Linked DNA regions of Homo sapiens: region 2 is linked to region 1. The links are contacts of gene promoters, found by promoter capture Hi-C in human tissues and cell types (Jung and others, 2019). All regions are on one chromosome and are shown on one strand. The core of a region is centred on a gene start or on the middle of the fragment in contact, and the rest is flanking DNA. Distances in the headings are between cores, read along the strand shown. Region 1 holds the start of BMPR1B (bone morphogenetic protein receptor type 1B). Region 2 has its middle 39 kb from the start of PDLIM5.

What was found. The method cuts DNA at HindIII sites, captures the fragments that hold promoters and counts their contacts. A contact is called where the count stands out against the background at its distance.
Region 2: a fragment that was not itself captured here is called in contact with the fragment with the promoter of BMPR1B in region 1 in 1 of the 25 tissues and cell types used here (mesenchymal stem cells).

Annotation. Positions count from the first base shown.
Region 1 is chr4:94,755,117-94,762,146 of GRCh38, forward strand. It overlaps BMPR1B (bone morphogenetic protein receptor type 1B), which reads left to right and starts at 2,839. Exons shown (of 13, transcript NM_001203.3): 1 at 2,839-2,952. It overlaps BMPR1B-DT (BMPR1B divergent transcript), which reads right to left and starts at 2,417. Exons shown (of 3, transcript NR_121610.1): 1 at 2,278-2,417. The HindIII fragment of the contact is 6,502 bases long and covers 1-5,875 here.
Region 2 is chr4:94,409,963-94,416,726 of GRCh38, forward strand. No RefSeq gene overlaps it. Among named protein-coding and RNA genes, the nearest start is that of PDLIM5, 39 kb to the right of the region's middle. RefSeq lists a silencer at 2,716-3,010. The HindIII fragment of the contact is 4,092 bases long and covers 2,834-6,764 here.

The DNA of each region.
Region 1 (7,030 bases), core at 1,589-4,088:
AGATCCTTCAGGACCCTTATGAAATGTGACTACTCTAGGAAGGTTTTCCTGAGATTTCTAGGCAGAATAGTTCATTTTTCTATGCTCCAAAAATTGTGTGTTCATGCATTAATGCACTTCTCATAGAAAGTTCTATATATTTTTTAAGTATCTTGTTTCTTCTGTATTATGAGTTTCAAGAAGGAATGGACAGAGTTTGCCTCTCAAATACCAGGACTTGGTTTGTCATAGGCACTCAAAAATGTTGATTTTTGAATAGCTTCTTTCCAAGGCTCCCCATTCCTGCTTACAGAAATGTTACCATCTAAGGCCCACCTCAAACACAGTTTCCCCTGTACCCCATTTTCTCCCACCTGGAGTGCTTTTTTTTTTTCATCCCAAAGACCTACAGGAATTTCCTTTGTTCTCTGATTTGGAATTTTAAAAAATATATTTAAACAAGGTATTTAAAAAAATCTGTCTCCTTGTCTGCAAGTTGATTGAAGTGGAATCTGTGTCTTCTCTATCCAGAGATGCCTGTATTCCCTGAATCAGTATCTTATACCCAGCAGATTCTCTGAAGGATATTTGCTGAATGGAGGAGTTAAGCCAAGGAAAGATAATCCTTAGTGCAACTTCTGAAAAGATACAGGTGACAATACCACTAGCTCCAAAACATTCTGCATAATGTCTGCTTTATTTCACTGCAGTTTATGAGTGCTCCAATTCTAAGGGAGATTATACAGCTGTCAAATACAAATTATCAGTAATTCACACAGTAGAAAGGATAGATTCAATCAGGTTTCTTTCCTCTTTAAACTTGCTTAATGTTGATGAGATATTGACAATGATCAACACATTACATTTTTAGTTCTATGGATTTCCAGTAAATTCTCTAAGCTTTTCTATGTATACAATCATAAGCTCTGTAATGAATTATAATTTGGTATCTTATTTTCAATATTTAAAACTCATATTTCTAAACTCACATTTCATTTTCGATAATTTATTATTTTTAGTTAATTACATAATAGCTCATAATTCCTTGCTTTGTCTTTTATTTTAATGGTGTAGAAGTTATAATTTCCGTGTCTTCAAGCCCCCTTCTCCCCACAAAACACTTAGTTAATATGAGGATGGAGATGATGAAAAATTGGATTGAGGACCAGGTAGAAGGTAATTTAGGTAGTCATATGCTTTATTGTTTTGAAAGAAAGGAGGTGGAAAAGGGAAGGGGTGGGAGTGAGGGTATCAGAGAAGAATTGGGATGAGAGTAAAATGAATGGATTTTATCTTGGAATTCTTGGGGCAAGAGGATGAGTACTGGTACTGGGGACTGGAACAGTGGTTGAATAAGGAAGGTCAGATGATGTCAATGACTAATTTCACTTGTTTTGGAAATTTTCTTTCAGATACCTTTCTTCTTCCAGTTTGGCATTAGAAATCACAATGCAGATATATCATGGGGCAAAAAGACCTTTGTGGAGACTCTAACATTGCTTTTATAGAAAAAACATGACCACATCTTCATACACTCAATAAACACTGGGGGCACCGCCTGCTTTAAGTGCAAGCTGCATAAAATAAATTGATACACAAATGAATTTTTTATTGATAAGTGCAAAAAGATTACATTTAATGTTTAAAAAAGATTTAATAGAAACAATTTAAGAAAAGGGAGTAGTTGAAAGAAAATAGTAGGCTAAGAATTGAATATAGAAATAGATATGAAGAAAATTGGAAGAAAGTTACTTCAGGGTGAAAAACTGTTAAAAAAAAAAATGACTTAGATCACACACTTGGTGGTGACCAGAGACTGTTTGTCAATATTTTGGAGGAAAAAAATTTTACAGAAGGAGAAAATAAGTAATGCTGGAGAGTGGGAAGCTGAAAGGTATTGAAAGGAAAAGAGTATTTGGAAGTCACGAGATATCTCCCTGGGAAATAGAGTTGGCAAAATGGCTGATTTTAAAGAGGTTAACTATTCTCCCCAAATTTCTGACTGTGAACTAGCTTACTTTATATTTACCCACTTAGAAAGTGTTTCAACACTTAAAGACTTAGCAAGGAGACCACAAAGTATAAGACGTTACATACTTTTCCAAAAGAAACACGACTAACTGTAAACTGTCATCAAATACAAATGGAATGGGTTTTCTCTTTTGGGTTTTATTTTTTTATTTTTAATTTTTTGGTGGTTGTTTTCGTTTAACGGTTTCAAAAAATATGTAGAAGGGAAATATTTCATTTCCCTTGGACGCTCAACTGTATATATTTCAAGATTCTTAAAACCCCCACCTCAAACTGCAGGCTTAATTTTAATGTGTTCATTTTTTACAAGGTGTGTCAACGTTTTATCAATTTCTGAAAAGTGTCTATGGCCCCGAAAAGTTGAAATCCACGACATTATATCATCTCTGCGAGCCCTTTCCAGCTCTCAAGGTACAATAATTCCACGAATCTTTGTTCTTCAAACCAGGAGGTTTTCTGGAAACCTTCTTAAACAACCAGGACAGGACCCATGAGGGAAATCTTGGGGATGCTCTGAGCAGCGGACGGGGCTTGGGAAGCGCACCCCTGTACCCGGGCTGCCTCCGGCCCGCACCCCGCCGCTCCCCAAGTCGGCTCCGCACTCCGCACACAGGCGGCGGCGCTGGGGCCGCTCCAAGTGCGTTGAGAAGTGTAATCCCTCCGCTAAGTACTTGGCTCTCAGTCTCCAATCACTAGTGGGAGCTGGAGAGGGCAAGTGAAAAAAAAAAATTCCAGAGGCAGCCGAGGAGCGAGAGGGAAAAAAAAAAAAAAAAAAAAAAAAAGTCCCGCGGTGGCGGCGGCGGCGGCGGCGGAGCGGCCGCGGCGGCCAGAAGTTGACGGCGCAGCCGGGCGCGGGGCGCGGAGTCGGCGGGGCCTCGCGGGACGCCGGGCAGTGCGGAGACCGCGGCGCTGAGGACGCGGGAGCCGGGAGCGCAGCCGCGGGTAAGGCGCGCGCGGCGGGGCCCCGTCCCCTGCGGGTGGCCGAGTTCCCGAGCGCGCGGGAGGCGGCCGAGCCGGCGAGAGCCGGGCAGAGCGAGGGGCGGCGCGGGACGGGTAGCGGCTGGGTGCGGAGCTGGGCGGCGGTCGCCCTAGGCAGGACGGAGCGCGCGAGGGAGAGGGCGAGAGCGAGGGCGGGCTGCGCGGCCGTGGGGCGGTGGCGGCGGCGGGGAGGGGGTCAGGCGGTGGCCGCCTCGGCTTTGTGCGCGGGCGGCTCTGCCGGGACCCCGAGGCCTCGTGCCTGCGCAGGCGAGGAGTCGGGGCAGCGGCGGCGGCGGGCGGGACACGTGCTTCGGGCTGTAGGGACGCCCCAAGGCAGGGAGTCGGACCTGCGAGCGGAGGGATGGGGCGGGAGGGCGAGCTGAGGGCAGTCGCGGAATCCGGGAAATGGGAGGGAGCCCGGCGGGGCGGGGGCCCAGGGCCAGCCCAGGCGGGACCCGCAGGCACCCACCTGCCCCGGACGCCTCCCGAGACCCAGCCTTGCCGTGGGGGAAAGTGCGCAGCGGGCTGGTCCCGGCGCCTTGGACTGGGCTCCGTCTCTGCTTCAGTTGCCTGTCTCTTCTCCTCTCTCTCCTGCTTCTCTCTCTCTATGCCTCTCTCTCAAGTTCTGGGTCTTTCATTCTCTCCCTTTTCTTCCTTTCTCCCTTCCTCTCCTTATTGCTATCCTTTGCCTCTCCCCCCGGTCTCTCTTTCCTTCCGTGCGTCTGTCTCCCTCTCCCCACCGCCTGCTCTGGCTCTCCCAGTGTGTCCCTCCTCTGTCCCTTCATCCTCTTCCCTCTGTCACTTTCGCACAATCTTTTGGTCTCTCTCTCTCTCTCAAGAGGCTTTCGCTCCCGGTCTTCCTGGCTCCCCTGTCTCTTGCTCTCTGCGCCCATCTCTCTGCTCGTCCCTCTTTCTGTCCAGGCTCCGTGTTTCCGCCTGTGTTTGGCGGTGTTGGAGAAGAGCCTCTGGAAGTTGTCCGCTGTGGTGCGGGTCTTACTTCTTTAGAGCTGCACCCCTCCAGCTGGGTCCTGCTGTTTGTTCTGAATGGAAACGCTGCAGTTCCCTTGAGTTATTAGAAACTGCTCTTTTCTTAGCCACCTTTCCAGCAAGGTGAGGTCAGTGACTACGAGCGGCCACAAAGGTGCCAGTGAAAGACAACGGAGGAAGAGAGCCGTTTCACTACCTCCAACAGATAAAGAAAATGTGTTAATACCAAACTTACCTGCAGCAAAGCAGAGCCACCTGAGAAAAGGTTCTTGAGTTCTGCAAAGAAACATAAAAGGCTCCACTGGAAATGAGAGGGTTCAGCTAAAAAGTGTTTGCAAATAATTTGAAAAAGCACTTAATGGAAATCTCTTGCTGTGCTAAATTGATGCCAACGAATCTCTGTTTTCTTACATATATTTTTAGGATTCCAGTGACAACTCTCCTAATTATTGTTTTGGGCAAGTTATGGGAAATGTCCTGTGTCAACTGGGATGTTAGTATTTAAGAAAATATTCAGTCTTTGTACTTTATACCCCTTTACACTCTAGTGATCAAGAAGAATTATTTCTAGCTGTAAAGAAAATAGTAAAGGATTCGTCAGTAATTTTAAAACATGAGACATGCCGGTGATCAATAATGTTTTTGGAAAACTTTCATTATAAGGATGTTTTGAAGGATGTTACATCTTAGTGAAATATGTAAGTTATTACACACTTAGATCATTGTGCAATGCAAAAAAGTTTGTGTTATAAGCAGATCATAGTAGTGATGTCTTTTTATGGGAAACATAGCTGGGAAATTAATTGCTCTGATTTTCACTGTTTTCTTTAGTCATGCATAATGTACCTTTGTGTTTAGCAAAATATGGCCTAGAGCTACAAAACTTGATACAGTGTGTTATTTGTCCAATCTGAATTACCATTTAGAAAACCACCTTTTCCTTTTAGTTACATGATATAAGTTGATATGATCTCATTACTCATGTGCTAGGGGCCGCTGATGAATTTTAATGGCACTGATTTGTGTTTTTAAATCAAAATGTTAGTTTTTGGTGAGTTAAAATCTTGATTTATGTCATGTTAGTGAATCATCACTATTTATAGGGGCTTTGCCACCTTGTCTGCCAGGTGCTGCCCAGCATTTAGTCTAGGCTAGGTTGTCTGAAATTCCCTGTTAGATTATTGTCCCTGAGTGACGTGCTGCCACGGCCTGCTTATGTATGTTTCTCTAAATGTTCCAGTCGTTAAATAATATTTATTAAAAGGAAATTGACTTAAATTTTTCCTCATAAGCTTTGGGAACTGTGTGAGATGGCCTGATAAAGTATTTTTATTACAGTAAATGCTGATTTATTATTATTTGTTTAAAAGTATAAGGCAGTTTAAAATGTGCTTATCTTTTGCCACATATAGCACCTCCTCCAGCTCTTTCTGAGCACTCAAATCGTATTTATCATCCAAATCTAAAGTCAGTTGTCACCTACTCCAACCTAGCAGAGCCTTCCTGATTTTCAGAAGCCCCCTCACCACTGCCTCTGCCTCTCAGGCTTCTGAGTGCCCCTCTTTCGGTGTCCACCTCTGTGCTGTATGGTTACTTGCTTGGCGCTTCCTTGTTGGACTGTTATCTCATTGAGGTGAGATAGTGTCCCTTGTTTCTTTTTCTCTGAATTTCAGATGCCCAGCACAGTACCTGGTATGTGATAGATACTCAAGAAATCCTTGTAGGACGATTGGTTCTTTTCCAAATTACCTCTAACTTGTGATACTGATTCTTTGTGGATGCAGTAGCTCAAGGAAAATACTTAAGAATAGTGTAATAGCAGATCATAGACTTAGGATTGAAAGAGTCTTAGCATGTCATCACACACATTAATAATATTAAAGATGAAGAGGATGAGGCCCAGAGAGTTTGAAAAACCATGCTCAGAAATAGAAAGTGAGGCTAGGATGGCTATGGAATTGAGACTTTACTTTTTTCACGGTGCCACAATTCTTTTCACTGGACTCATGTTTGACTTCTTTCACTAGAAGTGGGTAAATATGTCTATAATTAGAAGCTGTAAGTTTTACTCTAAACTCTGAAGATTTCTTTTCATGTCATCCAATAAAAGCCGTGCATGAAATGTATCACTTTGCAATAACTGATAATCATTTCTGATGCATGTAAGCATGGAGGTAACACCGATCTTTAAGAACCTTGACTCCTAAATTATTTCTATGTGGTAGGCATTGTTCTGGGTGATAACTGTGTTGGGCAGAATTACTATTTCTTACCTGCAAAGAAGATTTAAGCTCTCTGGACTTACATTTTCCGCTGTATAATTCTGTGTGTGTGTGTGTGTGTGTGTGTGTGTGTGTGTGTGTGTGTGTGTTGAAGGGGGTTAGGGAGAAGAAAAAGGAAGTTTGGACCAGATTAGTGGTTCTTTTTGAAGTTTTCTTCAGAGACTACCAGTTTAACTCCCAGAACAACTGCAAATTCATCTGTTTTACATATCAGACTTCCTGGTAAGCTTTTGTTTTAAAAAAGGCTAACACAGCTTTAAAAAAACTTGAAGACCACTTTACTTGTTGTCCTCCAGTCCCTCTTCCAGTTCTTGAATTTCATAATCAAGATCATTTTTAGCTTTTAAATATGGGTATTCAGAGGATGGTTGGTGAAAGTATTAAAGACAGAAGGAAAAACTGATTTTGCCTTAGAGATACTATTAATAATTTCAGGTTTCCATATGCTGAATTTTATATGATGGCAGAAACTGAAGTAGAATTGTTGAGATATGTATAGGCAGGCCAGAATTCAGGGAAAGGAGGGGTTGCGGCTAGAAAGGTAGATTAAAAAGTCGCTTATATGACTTAATAACTTAAATTGAGTGAAAATAAAACTTTTTAGGCATAGAGTACAGAGAGAAGCCAAGATTTAGGAGTAGACAAAAAGGACATTTTGTTATGTTATTTCTGGGTATTTTTAAAGCCCATCACAGTGGTAAGAAGGGATAATGTATAATTTACATCAGGCAATAATTTGTTTTCATGATGTTCAGGACATCCACTTACATGCC
Region 2 (6,764 bases), core at 3,630-6,129, 340 kb before region 1:
GCAGTGGCATGGAATTTTGTAAAGTGGAATTCTAGCCATAGGTAGTGTATTCTTAATGAATATACCACTACATTTTTTTAAATTGAAATGACACCAATTGGACAAAAATCCACAAGGCCTTACAAATGAGGCTACTTAGAAACAGCCATGAGTATCTGACAGGTCAGGAAAGTAAACTGTTTCATACAGACTTTGCTGTTAAAAATACTCCAGTGATGTGTTTTTATAGGCAGGCAAGGGAAAATGTCCATAAATAGCTCTGGGAAGTTTAGCCAAGAGTTTAAGTTGCCAGTAAAAATATTAAATTGACCATCAATAGAAATATTTCAAATTTAGTGAATACTTAAAAAGGCAAAAATAAGAAGAAACTGAATGATAGCAACATTTAAATTTGTAGAATTATTTTCTCTTTGCTATATTCTGTATTTTTCTAATATTTCAGTGTTTCTTTCCCTATTTTCATATCCTATGATTTTCTTCATCCCAAATTATATTTTCATTTATCATTGATTTAAATGCTTTATTTCTTTTTTGTTTGTGAAGGTGGATTTTTTTTAACCTTATTCCAGAAACTTTCCCATCTGAATTTCAAATCATCGTTGCTTAACAGTTCATTTCTTTTCAAGGGATGGGGGGTTACTCTTTAACGAGTATGAGGGGTTGGGAGGGAAAACTTCACCTTTCTGACACTGGAAATTCGAATCAGTAAGATGTCCTTCATCCTGATACACGCTTTCTTGGGTGTTTACTGTCGGCACTCAACCATGAACTATGACTTGGCATCTGTAGTCTCTAATCCTAACTCAGGTTTATGAAGTTTCACAATTTTTTCCCTAGAGAACAGCCAACGCTGAGCTGGCGCAATACCACGGAGCACAGACCTTTGAGGAGCACACTACTGGCATCCATATAAGGAATACAGGACTTGGTCATGGCAGCCCAGGGCAGCAGGAGGAGTGCACTCAGCTCTTCGTAATTCCGTGCAACCATGCAAGTGAGGACGAGGCTGTCCGGCCCCTCCCTGATTGCCTTCTCCCACATAAGTTTGAGAAGGAGGCCTTGGACAGCACATACACTAAAATTTGAACGATGCAGAGAAGATTAACATAGAGTCAGAAAGAAAGAAAGAAAAAGGAAGGAAGGAAGGAAGAAAGAAAGGAAAGAAAGAAAAAGAAAGAAAGAGAAAGAAGAAAGAAAGAAGGAAAGAAAGGAAGGAAGGAAGGAAGGAAGGAAGGAAGGAAGGAAGGAAGGAAAAGAAACATGCTGGTTGGCAATATTTCAGAATGATGGTCTGATTCATGGTGACTTCTAACTTATTAATAAAGAATAAATATTTTCTTGAAAAACCAATTCCATGAACAGTTACTTAACTATATATATATATAATATAGTTTATATTAAAACTATAAATTTTAAAATTGAAAAGCTTCTTAAATCAAAGCCTTAACATGTTTCAACTCTCTCCTCTGATGAATTTAGAAGAGTTACTGTAACTCTTAAGCTATGCCTGAGTTGGAATTCAGAAGTAGGATCAGGGCTTAGCTTGAATCATTTGTCTAGGCTTTTTGATCTGGGGAAGCCATTTCATTTTTATTTCCTTTAGACACAGAAAATGTTTTCCCTTGTGTTAAAGTGGACATTTTTGTCCTCACTAATATTTTTCTTTTCTTTTCTTTTCTTTTTCTTTTTTTGAGACAAAGTCACCCAGGCTGGTGTGCAATGATGTGATCTTGGTTCACTGCAACCTCCACCTCCAGGGTTCAAGCAGTTTTCCTGCCTCAGCCTCCTGAGTAGCTGGGATTACAGGTGCCCGCCACCACACCTGGCTAATTTTTGTATTTTTAGTAGAGACAGGGTTTCACCATGTTGGCCAGGCTGGTCTCAAACTCCTGACCTCAAGTGATCTGCCCACCTCAGCCTCCCAAAGTGCTGGAATTACAGGCGTGAGCCACCATGCCCACCCTAATATCATTTTTAATATTGTAAACTTGTCAGTTCTCTCTTATATTCCAATTTTCCTCACGCCTCTACTCACATTGTTTCTTGCCAGTTACCACAGTAGGAGTAATCTTATCTAGCAATTGTAGATAATACATTAAATTTTAATGTTAAAAACATTCTTCTTAAAATTCTTGACACATGACCTGTGTTATTTCTTCTGATACTCTGCCATTGAAAGCTACAAAGGAGGTTAAGTGTCTACAAAATCCCGCCTTTCCTGTTTTCCTCAGTTACTGCAATTCCAAATTTTTACTGGGAATTTTAATGTAAACAAGTTTGCAATGATTTTCATACCATCCTTGAAACCTCTGAGTCTTGTAAGCATCTCTAGGATTATGTAGAGGATTTCATTTGTTTTCCCCATTTTTTCTGTAGCCTAACTTAACATGACTAAGGTTCAAGGACATGGAAAATTAACCTTACACTTTGGAAACACAGATCAAGTGACATAGACTCAGTTTAAGAAGGTCATTTCATGACTCACTGATAATTATTTCAGGACAGATTTGATAATTGAGAGTGAGCCATGTTAGTCTTCAAAACAACGTAAGAAAAAGTTACTGATTTGCTTTTGGAAAAGCATATTCATCTTACATAGATAACAGGAAGGAAAATGGTGAGGCTCTTCGGGATTGCTTTTTTTTTTTTATGTTTGCCTTTGACAAGTGTATCAAAGGTTAATAAAGCCCTTTGGAATTTTGATTTTTGAAACACTAACACACGTAAACTTAAAAGCACTACCGGTTGATTAGAAGGTGGTACTTTTGGGTGTGAATGCTGCCCGTTTCACATGCAAACTGCGTCCAGCAAACAATCCTGGGAACAGAGCCAAGAAATGTCATTTCTCTCACTTTGTACTTCCATAATAAGTCTTCATCCCCAAATGCTTTCCCCTGTTCTGTCCGCTGACTAATCCACCCACTCAAAATCTTTCCTGTTTACACTGTAAAAGAATGGTATTTTTAAAACCTTTACTCCTTTAGCAAAAGCACCCAACATAAAGCCTTGCACACAGACACACGTAATAAATGTCATTTTGAAAATCTTTTAAAATAGATATCCCTTTATGAACTTCAAAGATCATGCAAAGGAATAAGTCAAAGCTAAACCCAGCAACTTGACTCTCCCTTCCAAATGTGTTACCATCAGAAAACACTAGAATCTGAGTGCAAGACTGAAACTCTGAAAGATTCTACCTTATTTAGCATGCAAGTTAGTCCTGTAATCCGTAGAATCAATATCAACACTTCAGAAGGATCTGTCCTGACTTGGCATAACATTTGATTTTTCTTAGCTTGTGAAATTGATCCTCTCCCTAACCTAGATTGTTAAACCTCATAGAAGACATTATTAGGCATGAGCAACAGTTTATTTCTGAAATCTGAATAAAAAATAGACATTTACTCACACAGTAGGTGATAATCCATGGCCATTTCCCTCATATAAACAAACTGCCCTCAACTAACTCCGGAAACCTCTTTTAATGATAGTTCTTGCAAAAGGTCAGCTAAAGTTTATTTTGCTTTCTTGCCTTTGTTGGAATTTTAGAAAACATGGTATCTTTTTAAAAAAGATTTTATGTAGCTCTCCATAAATCAGAATTGTTTGGCCATCTCTTCAGAGGCATAGCATTGAAGCAACTATAGTGTTTTCATTTTTCTCTACTGAAGGAACATTCTCATCCTGTGGTTTCAGAGAATATTTAGAAAGATAATCAAATAAATCTGCTTATCTTCTTTTCTACTTCCAACATAGACCCAATTTTGCAACATATTACCATCATTGGGTCAAACTGACCATGGCAAACACAAATTTTGTTGAATCAGTTTTAGTCTCTACCAAATCTACCACCCTCTGCCATCATATTCCACAGTTATGCCACTGTCCTGCCATTACACCTTGTAAAATCTTACAACAGGTTTTGTGAGATTTTTATTAAAACCTCACAGTACTATTTTGCCTCCCCCCTTATCTTTGTGGTTACCAGACCTTGCTCGTTTTCTTTATAGGTATCTTTCTGACACACCAATTTCCATTTGGAGCCATTCCTATTATAAGCCTTTGTAATTGACCACTTGACTAATATTTTGCCCTTCAGCTTCTCTCACCTTTAATCATCCTAAACGCTATTTGTCTTATAGTAAGATATCAGAAAATAATTGTAAATGTAAGCCACAGGTAACAATACATATAAGATATCGTTATTGTACAAACTTATCAAGTAATTAACATCAACTAAGCTTTGTTCTTACTCTAACACCCAGCACACCTGAGGCCAGGGCTTGGGAGGTGAGGCCTGGGTGCTCCACTCCCAGCTCAGGCTGCTAGCATTATTGGGGTGGGGGGTCATAGGAGGAAGGTCATTTCTGAAGACATACCAGAGATGGTTCATTAAATAACAGAGATCAGTGACTGTACCAAGCCAGGAGGGAATCTAGCTGTAAGTCTGTTCAAAGAAATGAGGGGACAAATGCAAGTACAGCAAGGCACTAAAGTTTGAACTCACACTTCAGCAAAATCAAAGGCAGTAGGATAAAGCAGGAGGGGAGCCTAAAGCAGGAAGAGATGAGATGTAGTGTGAAGAACAGGCCAGCCTACTCCAGGTAGTACCCCTACACTTTGCAGATCCTCTAGACCTTCGTTTCCCCACGACTCACTCAACCCGGATACTCAGCTCAAAAAATTTTGTTTTTCCCCCACTTCCTTTCTTTCTCTCCCTCCTCTTGCACATTTGCCTGACTTGATATAAGCAAAACCCAAAATCCAGTTTTCCAAATACATAGCTTTTCTTACATGGAGAGGAGAAGGGAAGGCTGGAACGAATAATTTCTTTTCCTTTGAATAGATACCCAGCAGTGAGATTGCTGTGTCAAATGGTAGCTCTATTTTTAGTCCTTTGAGAAACTCCAAACTGTTTTCCATAGAGATTTAACTAACTTACATTCCCACCAACAATGTATAAGCATTACCTTTTGTCCACATCTACACCAACATCTATTATTTTTTGACTTTTTAATAATGGCCATGCTGACTAATGTGAAATGGTATCTCATTTGCGATTTTAATTTATATTTCTCTGATCATTAGTGATGTTCAGCATTTTTTCATGCAGTTGGTGGTCACTTGTAGTCTTCTTTTGAGAAATGTCTGTTCCTGTCTTTTGCCCATTTTTTAATGGGGTTGTTTGCTTTTTTCTTGTTGAGTGGTTTGAGTTCCTTGTAGATTTTTGGATATTAGTCTATTGTTAGAAGCATAATTTGTAAATATTTTCTCTCATTCTGTAGGTTGTCCATTTACTCTGTTGATTATTTCTTTTGCTGTGAAAAGCTTTTTTTTTTTTTTTTGAGACAGAGTCTCGCTCTGTCGCCCAGGCTGGAGTGCAGTGGTGTGATCTCGGCTCACTGCAAGCTCTGCTTCCCGAGTTCATGCCATTCTCCTGCCTCAGCCTCCTGAGTAGCTGGGACTACAGGCGCCCACTGCCACACCCAGATAATTTTTTGTATTTTCAGTAGAGACGGGGTTTCACTGTGTTAGCCAGGATGGTCTCAATTTCCTGACCTCGTGATCTGCCTGCCTCAGCCTCCCAAATGTGCAAAAGCTTTTTAGTTTAAGTCCAATTAGTCTATTCTTGTTTTTGTTTCATTGGCTTTTGGGAAATTTCATCATAAATTCTTTCCCTAGGTCAATGTCCACGAGAGTTCTTTCCAGGTTTTCTTCTAGGATTTTTATAATTTTGGGTCTTACATTTAACTTTTTAATCCACCTTGAGTTAATTTTTGCATATGGTGAGAGATAAGGGTCCAATCTCATTCTTCTGCATATTGCTAGCCAATTTTCCCAACATCATTTATTGAATAGGCTATCATTTCCCCATTGTTTATTTTTGTTGACTTTATCAAAGATCAGTTGGTTGTAGGTAAGTGGCTTTATTTCTGTGTTCTCTATTTTGTTTCATTGATCTATAGGTCTATTTTTGTACCAGTAATATGCTGTTGTAATAATTATAGCCTTGTAGTGTAATTTGAAGAGGAACAATGTGATGCTTCCAGCTTTGTTATTTTTGCTTAGGATTGCTTTGGGTATTCAGGCCTTTTTTTGGTTCTTCATGAGCTTTAGGGTTTTTTTTTCTAATTCTGTGAAAAATGACATTGGTATTTTATTAGGGATTGCATTGACTCTGCACACTGCTTTGAGCAGTATGGTCCTTTTAACAATATCAATTCTTTCAAGCCATGAACATGGGATGTTTTTTCATCTGTTTGTGTCATCTATGATTTCTTTTATCAGCATTTTGTAGTTCTCCTTGTAGAGATCTTTCACCTCCTTGGTTAAATGTATTCCTAGGTATTTTATTGAGTGTGTGTGTGTGTCCATTGTAAATGAGATTGAGTTACTGATTTTGTTCTCAGGTCGAAAGTTATTCGTTTACAGAAATGCTTCCGATTTTTGGATATTAATTTTGTGTTCTGAAACTTTATTGATGTCATATATTAAGTCTAGGAGTCTTTTGGAGAAGCCTTTAGGGTTTTCTAGGTATACGGTCATGTCATCAGCAAACATATAATTTGACTTCCTCTTTTCCAATTTGGATATTATTTCTTTCTTTCTTTCTTTTGCCTGATTGCTCTGGCTAGGACTTTCAGTACTGTGTTGAATAGGTGTGGTGAGAGTGAACATTCTTGTCTTATTCTGGTTCTTAGAGGGAGTGCTTTCAACTTTTCACCATCCAGTAGGATATTGGCTATGGGTTTGTCATACATGGT